Regions from separate parts of the Homo sapiens genome. Here regions 2, 3 and 4 are each linked to region 1. The links are contacts of gene promoters, found by promoter capture Hi-C in blood cells and fetal thymus (Javierre and others, 2016). All regions are on one chromosome and are shown on one strand. The core of a region is centred on a gene start or on the middle of the fragment in contact, and the rest is flanking DNA. Distances in the headings are between cores, read along the strand shown.

Region 1 (3,173 bases), core at 1-2,500:
CTCGGACTGCGAGGGACGGCTCTTCCCCATTGGCTACCAGTGAGCGGTCGGGGTGATCCATGGGGCCAGGGGACTCCATAGCTGGATCCCATTTCCCAAGCATCCTAACCGTCTTATCCCACATGCCAGGTGCTCCCGTCTGTACTGGAGCACAGTGGATGCTCGGAGGCGCTGCTGGTATCGGTGCCGAATTCTGGAGTATCGGCCATGGGGGCCGAGGGAAGAGCCAGCTCACCTGGAGGCTGCAGAGGAGAACCAGACCATTGTGCACAGCCCCGCCCCTTCCTCAGGTGTGGCTTTGGCTCTGTCTTCTTCCTGAATACCGCTCTCCCTAAACAAACCTACAGATCTCTGTTCCCCGCTCCCTTTTGGAAAGTCCAGGAGGCTTGCTTTTGCTTCAGTTGCTGTAATGTAACGGCAGCTCGCTTACTGCCATGCCTTGTGTGCCAGGGGCTGTGCCCGGCTTTTCATGGGAAGTGAGGTGGGGAGAGCGGCACGCTGCCTACTTGAGGTGGGGTACTGGCTTTTGGACGACTGCAGGGAGTAGAGTGCTTACAGCTCCCTAACTTGGGGCACTGTGCTCATGGAGCGCTCTCCAGTGTCGCCATACTACACCTTGAAGGGGACAGTGGCTGAACACAGTAACATGCTAGGGAAGCTGGAATTGGAACTGCATCTGCTCAGCTCCCAAACCGGCCCCCTTACAGCCACACTGGCTGTGGGATGTGGCTGAGAGCTGGATGGCACAGGGCAAAGAATGGGCTTGGAGATGGGGGAGAGGTTATTGTGGGCAGAGCAGGAGGCAGAAGAGATTTGGATGGTAGGAAGGGCTTTATTCCAGGTTGGAGCATGACAAGAAGTGGACAGAGGAGGAGGGTACACCCATCCCGTCTGGAAACCAGGGAGTTTTGGGTGGAGGAGGGAGATCAGTTTGCAGAGGTTGGGTGGAGCCAGGTAATGGAGAGCCTCCGGGCCGGGGCGGGCGGGAGCGTCTGATGTGGCTTGGATGCACCAGGCAAGTAAGAAAGTGGTAGGACTGGCCGTGCTGGAGGGAGGGCAGTTCCCCATGGCGTGCAAAGCCTGCAGCAGAGGCAGAGAGGAGATGGCAAGGAGCGAGTGGGGAGAGGCCCTGAAGGCCCCCTGGCCCAGGTGTGTGCAGGTTTTGCCAACTCCACGGTGGGTTTAGCCTGGGTGGTCACTGGAAACTGGGGCCTGTTGTGACTGGGTCAGGGTCGGGGACCTGGGAGGCATAGTGGCTCAGGATGAGAGCATGTGGGCAGGCTTTGACACAGAGCCCCTACCACCCCAATGCCATTTCTCGCCTCTTCAGAGCCCCCAGGTGGTGAGGACCCCCCACTGGACACAGATGTTCTTGTCCCTGGAGCTCCTGAGCGCCACTCGCCCATTCAGAACCTGGACCCTCCACTGCGGCCAGATTCAGGCAGCGCCCCTCCTCCAGCCCCCCGTTCTTTTTCGGGGGCTCGAATCAAAGTGCCCAACTACTCGCCATCCCGGAGGCCCTTGGGGGGTGTCTCCTTTGGCCCCCTGCCCTCCCCTGGTGAGCACCGGGCATGTGGGGGTTGGGGGTGGAGCCGCGGAGGTGGGAGCTGCTGGTAACACCAACCCTCCCCCCACAGGAAGTCCATCTTCACTGACCCACCACATCCCCACAGTGGGAGACCCGGACTTCCCAGCTCCCCCCAGACGTTCCCGTCGTCCCAGCCCTTTGGCTCCCAGGCCGCCTCCATCACGGTGGGCCTCCCCTCCTCTAAAAACCTCCCCTCAGCTCAGGGTGCCCCCTCCTACCTCAGTCGTCACAGCCCTCACACCTACCTCAGGGGAGCTGGCTCCCCCTGGCCCGGCCCCATCTCCACCACCCCCTGAAGACCTGGGCCCAGACTTCGAGGACATGGAGGTGGTGTCAGGACTGAGTGCTGCTGACCTGGACTTCGCGGCCAGCCTGCTGGGGACTGAGCCCTTCCAGGAAGAGATTGTAGCCGCTGGGGCCATGGGGAGCAGCCACGGGGGCCCGGGGGACAGCTCCGAGGAGGAGTCCAGCCCCACCTCCCGCTACATCCACTTCCCTGTGACTGTGGTGTCCGCCCCTGGTCTGGCCCCCAGCGCTACCCCTGGAGCCCCCCGCATTGAACAGCTGGACGGCGTGGACGACGGCACTGACAGTGAGGCTGAGGCGGTGCAGCAGCCTCGGGGCCAGGGCACGCCTCCTTCGGGGCCAGGAGTAGTCCGGGCAGGGGTCCTTGGGGCTGCAGGGGACAGGGCCCGGCCTCCTGAGGACCTGCCATCGGAAATTGTGGATTTTGTGTTGAAGAACCTAGGGGGTCCTGGGGATGGAGGTGCTGGCCCTAGAGAGGAGTCACTCCCCCCGGCGCCTCCCCTGGCTAATGGCAGCCAGCCCTCCCAAGGCCTGACCGCCAGCCCAGCTGACCCCACCCGCACATTTGCCTGGCTCCCAGGGGCCCCAGGGGTCCGGGTGTTAAGCCTTGGCCCTGCCCCTGAGCCCCCCAAACCCGCCACATCCAAAATCATACTTGTCAACAAGCTGGGGCAAGTATTTGTGAAGATGGCTGGGGAGGGTGAACCTGTCCCACCCCCAGTGAAGCAGCCACCTTTGCCCCCCACCATTTCCCCCACGGCTCCCACCTCCTGGACTCTGCCCCCAGGCCCCCTCCTCGGCGTGCTGCCCGTGGTCGGAGTGGTCCGCCCTGCCCCGCCCCCGCCACCCCCTCCCCTGACGCTGGTGCTGAGCAGTGGGCCAGCCAGCCCGCCCCGCCAGGCCATCCGCGTCAAGAGGGTGTCCACTTTCTCCGGCCGGTCCCCGCCAGCACCTCCCCCATACAAAGCCCCCCGGCTGGATGAAGATGGAGAGGCCTCAGAGGATACCCCTCAGGTTCCAGGGCTTGGCAGTGGCGGGTGAGTGCGGGTGCTGAGGCTGGCAGAGCAGGCAAGGGGGCAGATGGGCGGGAGATGCGGCTCATCCTTCTCGGGCTCGCCCTCCCAGGTTTAGCCGTGTGAGGATGAAAACCCCCACAGTGCGTGGGGTCCTTGACCTGGATCGGCCTGGGGAGCCCGCTGGGGAAGAAAGTCCTGGGTGAGTGGCCAGGCCCCTCTCCCTGGAGGGTCTGGGACCTCTGTCCTTCCCCTTCCTGACAGGT
Region 2 (3,173 bases), core at 674-3,173, 200 kb after region 1:
AAATACCAAAAAAATTAGCTGGGCATGGTGGCAGACGCCTCTAGTCCCAGCTACTCGGGAGGCTGAGGCAGGAGAATGGCGTGAACCCGGGAGGTGGAGCTTGCGGTGAGCCAAGATCACACCACTGCACTCCAGCCTGGGCAACAGAGCTAGACTCTGTCTCAAAAATAAATAAATAAATAAAATAATAATAAAATGGGGTTATTTGTTTTTTGCTTGTTGCATTGTTTAAGTCCCTTATAGACTGAATTCCTCTTTATGTCTCTAAATACATTTGTCTCTTTGGTACACATCTGCGGTGCTACATGCCCTCAACCCACCAGGTTTTAGCATAGCTGTTGTGGTAGACAGTTCCGTGTGCAGTGCAGATAGCCCTGGTTCAGCCCAGCTGTTCTCAAAATGTGGTCCCTGACCAGGTGTAGTGGCTCACACCTGTAATCACAACACTTTGGGAGGCCTGGGAGGGAGGATTGCCTGAGGCCAAGAGTTCAAGACCAGCCTGGGCAGCATATTGAGACCCTGTCTCTACAAGAAATTTTAAAAATTAGCTGGATATGGCGATGCATGCCTGTAGTCTCAGTTACTCTGGAGCCTGAGGTGGGAGGATTGCTTGAGCCCAGGAATTTGAGGTTGCAGTCAATTATGATTGCACCAATGTACTGGGTGACAAAGCAAGACCCTGTCTCAAAAAAAAAAGTATGGTCTTTGAAAAGTCACATTAGCATCACCTGGGTACTCGTTAAAAATGCAAATGTTTGGGTCCCACCTCAGACCCACTGAACCAGAAACTCTGAGGTTGGGACCTGGAGATCTATGGTGCCCCCGGGTGATCCTGGTGGGCTGCACTGCAAGGACACCTGGCCTGGCTCCTGCAAGGCAAGGCATCCCTCTCTGCTTTTCTTTCTTTCTTTCTTTCTTTTAAAGACAGAGTCTCACTCTGTCACCCAGGCTGGAGTGCAATGGCTGGATCTCAGATCACTACAATCTCCACCTCCCGGGTTCAAGCAATTCTCTTGCCTCAGCCTCCCGAGTAGCTGGGATTACGGGCGTCCGCCACCACACCCGGCTAATTTTTGTATTTTTAGTAGAGACGGGGTTTCTCCATGTTGGCCAGGCTGGTCTCCAACGCCTGATCTCAAAAGATCCGCCCGCCTTGGCCTCCCAACGAGCCGGGATTACAGGCGTGAGCCACCGCCCCCGGCTGTCAGTGTGTCTTGAGGTCTTTCCCTAATCCCAGATGGCACAAGTTTTCCCTCTTGCAGGCAGAGAAAGGAGCCTTGGGAAGGAGCCCCTCTGGCCTGAAAGATCAAGCCTATTGCTGGGCATGGCCAGGTAAGGAAACTCCAACCGTGGAAAGGACATTCCAGGGAGGTGGTGCTGAGATAAGGGGGGCAGAAAGAGACAGGTTTGGGGGGCCAGTGGCTCTGGAATGAAGCGCTACACTCAAGGCTAGGAATAGTTACTGAATGCACATACACACATACCATTCTCACAGCCCAGGTGCTGCGTCTTAGAGCGTGTGAGTGTGTATGTGTGTGTCTGTGTGTGCGCGCGCACGCACGTCTCTATCTCTGTTTCTGTCTTTCTCTGACTTGTCCTTATCTCTTGTCTCTCCATCACTCTCTGTGTCTCGCTGTCTCTGTGCATTTCCATGTCTCGAATATGTGTGTGTTTCAATCTGTCTCTCTGCCTCTTTCCATTTTCTCCTCTCTATCCATCAATCTAAGCCTGCCCATCTTTTTGTCTGCCTTTCTGTATCTCCGTTCTTCTCTGTCTCTCTGTCTCAGTCTCTCTGTATCCAGGGATTCTCTTTCCCAGCAGCGCCAGTGCGACTCCATGGGAGGTGGGGCCGGGGCGCGTCTTTGAGAGAAGGGGCGGGTGCCTACGCCTTTAAGCGCGGGTGCGCGCGGAGCCTGCGCCTTTAAGCGCCGGTGCGCGCGCTGCCCTGGGTTGCCGGCGAGGAGGCCGCGGGAGCGCCTGGACCCGGCCCGCCCAGCCCGGCCCCCGCCCGGCCCCCGCCTCGGCCCCGGCGGGGGAGGGGTCTCTGAGCGCGGCCCCTCCCCCCTGCGCCCCCGCCTGCGCTGCGGTGCCCCCATCCCGCGTGTCCCAGTCTGTCTGACCGTCCCTCCGCTCCCAGGCCTCGCCCCACCCGGCCCTGGGGCTGCCCGGTCGCCCCCCTCCCCACCGCAGCCGGTCCCCTCCCTCCCAGTCAGCCTCCGCCGCAGCCCAGGAAGCCAGCCGGGACGCCGCCGCCCCGGACCCCGCGCCCTAACCTCCACCTCGGGGGCCTGCACCCCCAGATTGAATCGGGAATTCCGGAAACCCGAGCCTGGAACCCTGATCTGGGACCAGCACCCCGAGATCCGGCCGTGGAACCCCAAGATCTGGAGCCTGAACCCCAGTATATGGGGCTGGAATCTCAACATCGGTCACTGGGACCTCAATATTTGGAGCCGGAACCCCACAATTTGGAACACAGACCCCAATATTTGGAGCAGAACCCCAAGATTTGACATCTAAAACCTCAAGCCTGGAGCTGAACTCTGAATTCTGGGCCTGGGACCTTGAAATCTGGGACTGGATTTCCAGTACTGTACCCTGGAACCCACTCTTGGGGACCTGAACCCTGGGATTCAGGCCTCAAATTCCAAGATCTGGACTGTGGGATTCCAAGGGGCCTGAACCCGAGTTTGGGCCTGAAGTCCTTGCTGCAGACCTGAGTGCTTAAATCTGGGGCTTGAGACCTCCCAATCTTGACTCAGCACCCCAATATCTGAATGCAGAACCCCGGGATCGGATCTCAGACTCTAAACCCCACCGTTTGGCTGCTTAGCATCCCAAGACTGGACCTGGGAGACCCTGACCCTGAACAACCCAAACTGGACCCGTAAAACTGGACCCTAGAGGCCCAATATTTAGGGGTCTGGAACCCCGAGTATTAAGGTCTGGAGACTCCGTTGCCACAGATTTGAGCCGAGTCAGGACACAGTCCCTCTACAGAAGCCTTGGGGACAGGAAAAGCATGACCAGATGCTCCCTCCAGAGCCCTGACCTCTGACTCCCCTGGAGCTAGGACTCTGCTCCCTGGGGCTGCTTCTAGCTCAGGTAAGGCTGCTGAAACCTCAAGGTGGGGACGGGCTGGGAGGAGCATTGTGGCTGCGGGTTACGGTACC
Region 3 (3,173 bases), core at 674-3,173, 190 kb before region 1:
ATGTGTCTGTCGTGGACCTGACCTGCCGCCTCGCCCAGCCTGCCCCCTACTCAGCCATCAAGGAGGCTGTAAAAGCAGCAGCCAAGGGGCCCATGGCTGGCATCCTTGCCTACACCGAGGATGAGGTAGGGGCTGAGGAGAGGAGACCCTGGGAGGAGCCCTCTGGGAAGGGACATGATTTCCACTTGCCAGGGAGCTGCTCTCAATGTGCCAAGTCAGAAACTGCAGGGCAGGAAGGGAGATCTCCCTGCCTCAGGGCCTTTGCACTTGCTGTTCCTTTAGTCTGGAATGCTTCCCTTGCCAGGTGACCATACAGTCTGTCCTTACTTCCTCCAAGTCTCTGGAGGAACCTCCCTCTTCAGCAAGGCACCCCCTCAAAATATGTTCTTTTTGTGGCCATATTCCTCACCTGAAATTTCATTTCATAGTCACTGTTGGCCCCAGTGGTGTGTGCACTCCAAGAAAACAGGGATTTAGGGGCTGCCTTTTCACTTTTGTGGCTCCAACCTGGCATACAGCAGGTGACTAATACATGCTTAGTGAACAAAAGACAACAGCTCCCATTTTTTTCAATACTTGCTCAGGGCCAGGCCATGGCCAGATGCCTTCTCTGTGAGGAGTGGATGCCATGGTCATGGTGGACCCCTGTACATCCACCTTGGTGCTGTCTCCCTGCATTAACTCCTGCAGGTCCACTTTCCCACAGTCACTGGGATCTTTTGTTTTAATGGAATCACATTGCATCACCCGTTTTCAGGATTGAAAACACTCCTGTGGCCTTTCATGACACTAGGGCTAAAACCCTCAGGTCCTCCCTTCCTGCAGCTCCTTCTACCTCAGACACTGTGCTGAGGGCCCCAGCCGGTCAGATCTTTCTAGTCATCTAGACCCAGGCTCATGGCCACCCCTCAGAGAGGCCCTCCATGCTGGCCCATTCCAAACGCTTGCATTATTCCTAGGAAAGGGATGTACTGGTACAGCATGAGGGTGTTTGTGACCTGTGCCCTTTGGCCAGACCCTGACACAGTGCCTTGGTCATACCCTGCACTTGGTCATACCCTCCAGTCCAGAGACTGGACACAGTAGGGCTACATCAAATATTATAGATGAATGCATGGATGGGCGATAGAGTTAAGAGTCGGGGCCTCAGCTCCTGGAGGTCCTTGCTCTGCCGGACACACTTATCTTTGAAATTCTGACTTCCAGGTCGTCTCTACGGACTTCCTCGGTGATACCCACTCGTCCATCTTCGATGCTAAGGCCGGCATTGCGCTCAATGACAATTTCGTGAAGCTCATTTCATGGTAAGGGGGAAGGAGCTGGAGACTTAGAGGGAGGGGAACTAAGGGGTGGTCGGAAGGAACCCCCTTGAACCTCCCGACCCCTCCTCCACAGGTACGACAACGAATATGGCTACAGTCACCGGGTGGTCGACCTCCTCCGCTACATGTTCAGCCGAGACAAGTGAAACGGGAAGGTCCTTTCTTTCCTTCCCAGGGGCCGGGGCCGGAACATGTGCCTCCCGTTCCAGCATCTGGCTGCCCGGGGGAGGAAGGACACCCGGGGCGGGCGCCCCACGCCGATGGGTCCATGGTGAAATAAAAAACAGTGCTCACGGCTGCGTCCCGTATCTCTGCGCCGGTCAGGGCGGGTTCTGATCCGGGTTTGAGGCCCGCCCCACCCTTACTCGATCGCCTGCGCCCACGGGCGAGGGGTCGCGCTCGACTCCAAGCCGGGTTCCACTTCAGGAGACCGGGACCGCGATGGCAGCGGTAGAGGCCCCGCATGGCCGGAAGTCACTCCCCAAAGCGCTGGGCCGGCAGCGGTGGGACCCAGGGCCGGCCACGGGCTCTCTGACGTCACTGGGCGCGACGCCCCGCGCCGGGACTACTGCTCCCAGAAGGTCGCGCGCGGGCCCCCGCCAGTCAGGTGGGTGCCAGGCCCTGGCCGTGGCGAAAGAGCCGGCGGAGCCGGAGACCCGCTCCCGGAGACGCCGCCTCGCGATCCCCGCGCGGGCGGGACCGGGCGGCCGGCATCATGACCCTGTTTCACTTCGGGAACTGCTTCGCTCTTGCCTACTTCCCCTACTTCATCACCTACAAGTGCAGCGGCCTGTGAGTGCGGGAAGGGCGCGGGGCGGAGAGGGCGCGGGGCCCGGGCCGACCCTCACCTCCCGCTTCTCCAGGTCCGAGTACAACGCCTTCTGGAAATGCGTCCAGGCTGGAGTCACCTACCTCTTTGTCCAACTCTGCAAGGTGAGGGCCACCGGGAAGCCACGTGTTCTGGCCCCCAGGCTCTGCAGACCCAGGGACCCGCCCCCGTTGCCTATCCGCGCCCCCGCCGCCCCACGGTGGGACCGCCCTCGGGACTCCGCACTGGGAGGCGTCAGGATACCTAGAGAGGATGGACTTTAAAGAGGGCACGACCTGAGAAGAGACCTAGAAGCAACTTTTGCGTAGCACTTAGTAAAACTGAGAAAACCTCAGTAGTGTGGTTGGCTAACAGGTTTTTTTTGGTGCGGTTAAGAGTGATCACTGATTCCGTACGTGCTGCTAACACTGCCCAAGGAGCAGCACCTTCAGACCTGACTCAGATGCCCTGTGATCACCCAGAACTCAAACTTCCAGCCCCCTCGGGGACCCGGGGACCTATCCTCTATCTCCCCGATTCCTGTAATTTTGCCACCATCTGGTGGTTCCTCTTCCAGATGGGCCCCCAGAACCTGTCCTGCCCTCTTCCTACCCACGAACTTCCCACAAATCCCACGTGGTTTATCTTGATCCCCTCACCTTGAAGTGACCTCTTTCTGCTTTCTGTTCTCAGATGCTGTTCTTGGCCACTTTCTTTCCCACCTGGGAAGGCGGCATCTATGACTTCATTGGGGTGAGAGGGGCCAGGGAAGGGAAGGGAGTTCAGGAATGGGGCTCCCTGTCCCCCTGTGCTTACTTAAGCCTCAACCTGACCCGCAGGAGTTCATGAAGGCCAGCGTGGATGTGGCAGACCTGATAGGTCTAAACCTTGTCATGTCCCGGAATGCCGGCAAGGGAGAGTACAAGATCATGGTTGCTGCCCTGGGCTGGGCCACTGCTGAGCTTATTATGTCCCGGTGCGTACAGCAGCCTGGAGCCCAGACCCCTGAGAAGGGACACCTGGGTTCCACGGGGGTGCTGGAG
Region 4 (3,173 bases), core at 219-2,718, 170 kb before region 1:
ACTCTTTATGCCCCCACCTATGTCCCCATACCCAAGATTCACCCCAGTGTCCCTGTGTCCTGTGTCCTTGGGTCTGCCCCATCCATATCCCAATGTCCTTCACCCTCCATGACCCCTGTCTTGAGACTGCCTTTCGTGTTCGTCTATCCCCATCCTTCTCTGCCCCTCTTGTCCCAAGTCCCAGGCTCAGTGTCTTCCATCCCCAGGTCCCCATGTCCTGAGCCTGTCCCCACAACATGGCTCACATTGTCGTCGGTGGTGAGGTCCCCCTCACTAGCCTGGATGGCAAAGGCGATGAGGCAGATGGCGGCGGCAACCCACATGAGGCACTGCAGGCCCCCGGCCAGCTGCCTCGCGAACTTGACGTACTCTGGGGTGCCCCGTGGTGGCCGCAGTGCGTTGGGCCCATCCCGCAGCAGCAGCTCAGCAGCCAGGCTCGCAGAGAGGCCCTGGGACAGAGGGGCAGGGCGAGGCGGTCCTGGGGGCTTTCCTCCACATGCACACCCCGTGGAAAGCCCCCTGCTTCAGTTTCCCTTCTCCAGCTTGGTCTGTCCTGCTCCTTCTCATCTCTTTGTCTCTTGGTTCCTGCCCCCACCCCATCTCTCCCTCCCTCCTTCATCTCTCCCTTTGTCTCTCTCTCCTCGCTCCCCTTTCTATGTGTCTCTCTCCTGCTGCTCTCTCCTTATTTGTCTCTGCCTTCTCTGTCTTGCTGTCTCTTTTCAGCTACTCCTCTCTCCGTCTCTGTGTGTCACCCTTTCTCTCTAATGCTTTCTCCCTTCTCTCCCTCTCCCTCTCTCTCCCTCTCTCCATCTCCCTCCCTCTCTCCTCCCCTCCCTCCATCCTTTCCTCTCTCCCTCCCTCCCTCTTTCCTTTTCTGCCTCCCTCCCTCTCTCTATTTCTCCATATCTTCCTCTCTTCATCTCTCCCTCTCTCTCCCTCTCTCCATCTCCCTCCTTCCATCTCCCTCTCCCTCCCTCTCTCCTCCTCCCCTTTCTGTACGCTCCCAGTCTCCAGCTCACCTTGGTGGCACTGGTCTGGTATTTCTGTTCCAGCTCCGCCACTGACAGCTGGTGGTCGTTCTGTGTGGTGGGGTGGGGCAGGGTGCTTGCTCTGGGCTCTCCTGGCCCCCTCCCCGCCCACTGCCTGGTTCCCAGCCTACCCTCCAGCTCCCGCCCCTCCCCAGTCAGAGCTCACAATCTCCATCTCCTTCTTCATGTTCTCCAGCTTCTCCTTCCTCTTGCCACCCCCGCCACCCGCCTTCTTCTTCTTGCTCATCTTGGCAGCCATGTCCCCGCCAGGGCCAGGACCCAGCTCCACCGAGTAGAGCTCATAGTTCTCCTGGGAATGGACAGGATGGAGGGAGGGAGAACTCAGATTCCACTGCAACCCCTGTCCCCACTGCACCCCGGACCCCTGGGCCCCACTCACGGCCTTCCCCATGGTGCCCGGTGCCTGTGCTCCCACCCAACAGAGCCTGGGCCCGGACCAGTCCTGATATACCCAGGGAGGGCGGTGGGGTGGAGCAGAACCGCCCGACCACAGCTGATTACAGGCTCCTTGGGGTGACCTCTAGGCCTGGGCACCTCAGGCATTCCCTCCTGGGCTGGCCCCCCCCTCCCCTGCCCAGATCCCCCCATGTCAACCTGCCCTGAGATCAGGGAGCCCCTGGGAACCGCTGCAGCAACAAGAAGAGCAAACATAAGGTGCTCATTATGCGCTGGGCATTGTGCTGACGGCTTCCATGTGCTAACTTATTTAACCTTCCAATAACCCTTTGAGGGGACAAGACCCTTTACAGATGGGGAAACTGAGGCATGGAGGGGTTGAGTCATTCTCCTATGGCTCCATCACAGGCTAGGACATAATGGAGTGAGAACCAGATCAGCTGGCTGCAGAGTGTCCTCTTTCAGTCTAAATAGCACGTGCCTGATCAACTGGAAGAGGAGGGTGCTCCCACACTCTTTTTTTTTTTCTTTTTTTTTTTGAGATGGAGTGTCACTCTGACACCCAGGTTGGAGTGCAGTGGTGCAATCTCAGCTCGCTGCAACCTCCGCCTCCCGGGTTCAAGTGATTCTCCTGCCTCAGCCTCTTGAGTAGCTGGGACTACAGGCACATGCCACCACACCCAGCTAATTTTTGTACTTTTAGTAGAGACGGGGTTTCACCAGGTTGGCCAGGCTGGTCTCGAACTCCTGACCTCAGGTGATCCACCCGCCTTGGCCTCCCAAAGTGCTGGGATTACAGGCGTGAGCCACCATGCCCTGCCATGCTTACAACACTCTCTATGGTGGCTGAATGTTTACTGAACTCTGACTATTCACTATGGGCTGGGTGTGCTCTGTGTGTCACTCAAATGGTTTCCTTAGCATCTAACAGCAGCCCTGTAAAGCAATATTCTCTTCTTAGCCCCCATCAGGGACTTTGCAGAAGATTTCAACGTCTAAGAATTAGGGACAGGGTTCCAGCCCGGGCTTGACCCCAGGGCTTGACCCCAGAGCCTAGCTCTTCTATGGCACCACCAATGGAAAAACCCAAACTTCACTGCAGCAGCACCACACACATGCCAGGCTCTGCACGTGTGACCTCACGGGTCTTTGCAAAAAACCCTGTGCAGGCAGAACTATCATTCCTGTTGTGCAGAGGGGGAAACTGAGGCTCACAGGGACTCACATATCCAGCTACAGACTTTACAGCTCTCAACCATTCCCCGTCCCTACCCTAGATGGGGAAACCAAGGTGCAACATGGGGAAAGGATGTGTCCAAGGGTCTTGGCTTGATCTTGGTGTTGGGTGACAGATGCCAGGAGGCCTGGGGACTCCCTCCTCATCCCTCAGGTAGGGACCTCCATGGGCAGCAGCAGCGAGGGGCTGGGCCAGTGGAATGGTGGGGACCTTGGTATGTTATGGGGTGAGCGTGTCTCCAGGAGCAGGTGAGCGTGCGCCTGATAAGATAACTGCCCTGGCAATGTCCTTCTCTACTGGGGCAGGTCACCTGGGAAACTCAAAGCTGTTGGGCAGCCAGAGCTCCTCCCCGCACCCACACGGCTGGTCATCCCCAGCCTGCTAGAAGAAACCTCCAAAGAAGAGGTGGCGTGGGGCCACATGCTGTCCTTGTAGTGAATCTACTCGCTCACTGGGCTCCCATCAGCTCTGAGCCATGTATGTCAAACAGC

Evidence for each region. Contacts are between HindIII fragments. The CHiCAGO score rates a contact against its expected background, and 5 or more counts as called.
Region 2: a contact is called between the fragment with the promoter of LRFN3 here and a fragment that was not itself captured in region 1, in 2 of 17 cell types (neutrophils and M0 macrophages). The highest score is 8.7, in neutrophils.
Region 3: the fragment with the promoter of TMEM147 here is called in contact with a fragment that was not itself captured in region 1 in 4 of 17 cell types (neutrophils, monocytes, M0 macrophages and 1 more); the score reaches 9.7 in neutrophils.
Region 4: a contact is called between the fragment with the promoter of ATP4A here and a fragment that was not itself captured in region 1, in 1 of 17 cell types (neutrophils). The highest score is 5.8, in neutrophils.

The regions. Positions count from the first base shown.
Region 1 is chr19:35,730,578-35,733,750 of GRCh38, forward strand. KMT2B (lysine methyltransferase 2B) reads left to right here. Exons shown (of 37, transcript NM_014727.3): 25 at 1-39; 26 at 130-290; 27 at 1,331-1,558; 28 at 1,638-2,931; 29 at 3,020-3,109. Among named protein-coding and RNA genes, the nearest start is that of IGFLR1, 10 kb to the right of the region's middle. The HindIII fragment of the contact is 6,974 bases long and covers 1-3,173 here.
Region 2 is chr19:35,934,451-35,937,623 of GRCh38, forward strand. LRFN3 (leucine rich repeat and fibronectin type III domain containing 3) reads left to right here and starts at 1,924. Exons shown (of 3, transcript NM_024509.2): 1 at 1,924-3,105. The HindIII fragment of the contact is 21,793 bases long and covers 1-3,173 here.
Region 3 is chr19:35,543,703-35,546,875 of GRCh38, forward strand. It overlaps TMEM147 (transmembrane protein 147), which reads left to right and starts at 1,924. Exons shown (of 7, transcript NM_032635.4): 1 at 1,924-2,114; 2 at 2,186-2,255; 3 at 2,824-2,883; 4 at 2,970-3,106. The coding sequence starts at 2,038. It overlaps GAPDHS (glyceraldehyde-3-phosphate dehydrogenase, spermatogenic), which reads left to right. Exons shown (of 11, transcript NM_014364.5): 9 at 1-125; 10 at 1,207-1,304; 11 at 1,396-1,617. The coding sequence ends at 1,468. TMEM147-AS1 (TMEM147 antisense RNA 1) reads right to left here and starts at 2,327. Exons shown (of 4, transcript NR_038396.1): 1 at 2,235-2,327. RefSeq lists an enhancer at 1,541-2,233 and a silencer at 1,926-2,505. The HindIII fragment of the contact is 5,741 bases long and covers 1-3,173 here.
Region 4 is chr19:35,562,190-35,565,362 of GRCh38, forward strand. It overlaps ATP4A (ATPase H+/K+ transporting subunit alpha), which reads right to left and starts at 1,469. Exons shown (of 22, transcript NM_000704.3): 1 at 1,429-1,469; 2 at 1,195-1,338; 3 at 1,020-1,079; 4 at 246-449. The coding sequence starts at 1,440. RefSeq lists an enhancer at 2,624-3,125. The HindIII fragment of the contact is 9,853 bases long and covers 1-3,173 here.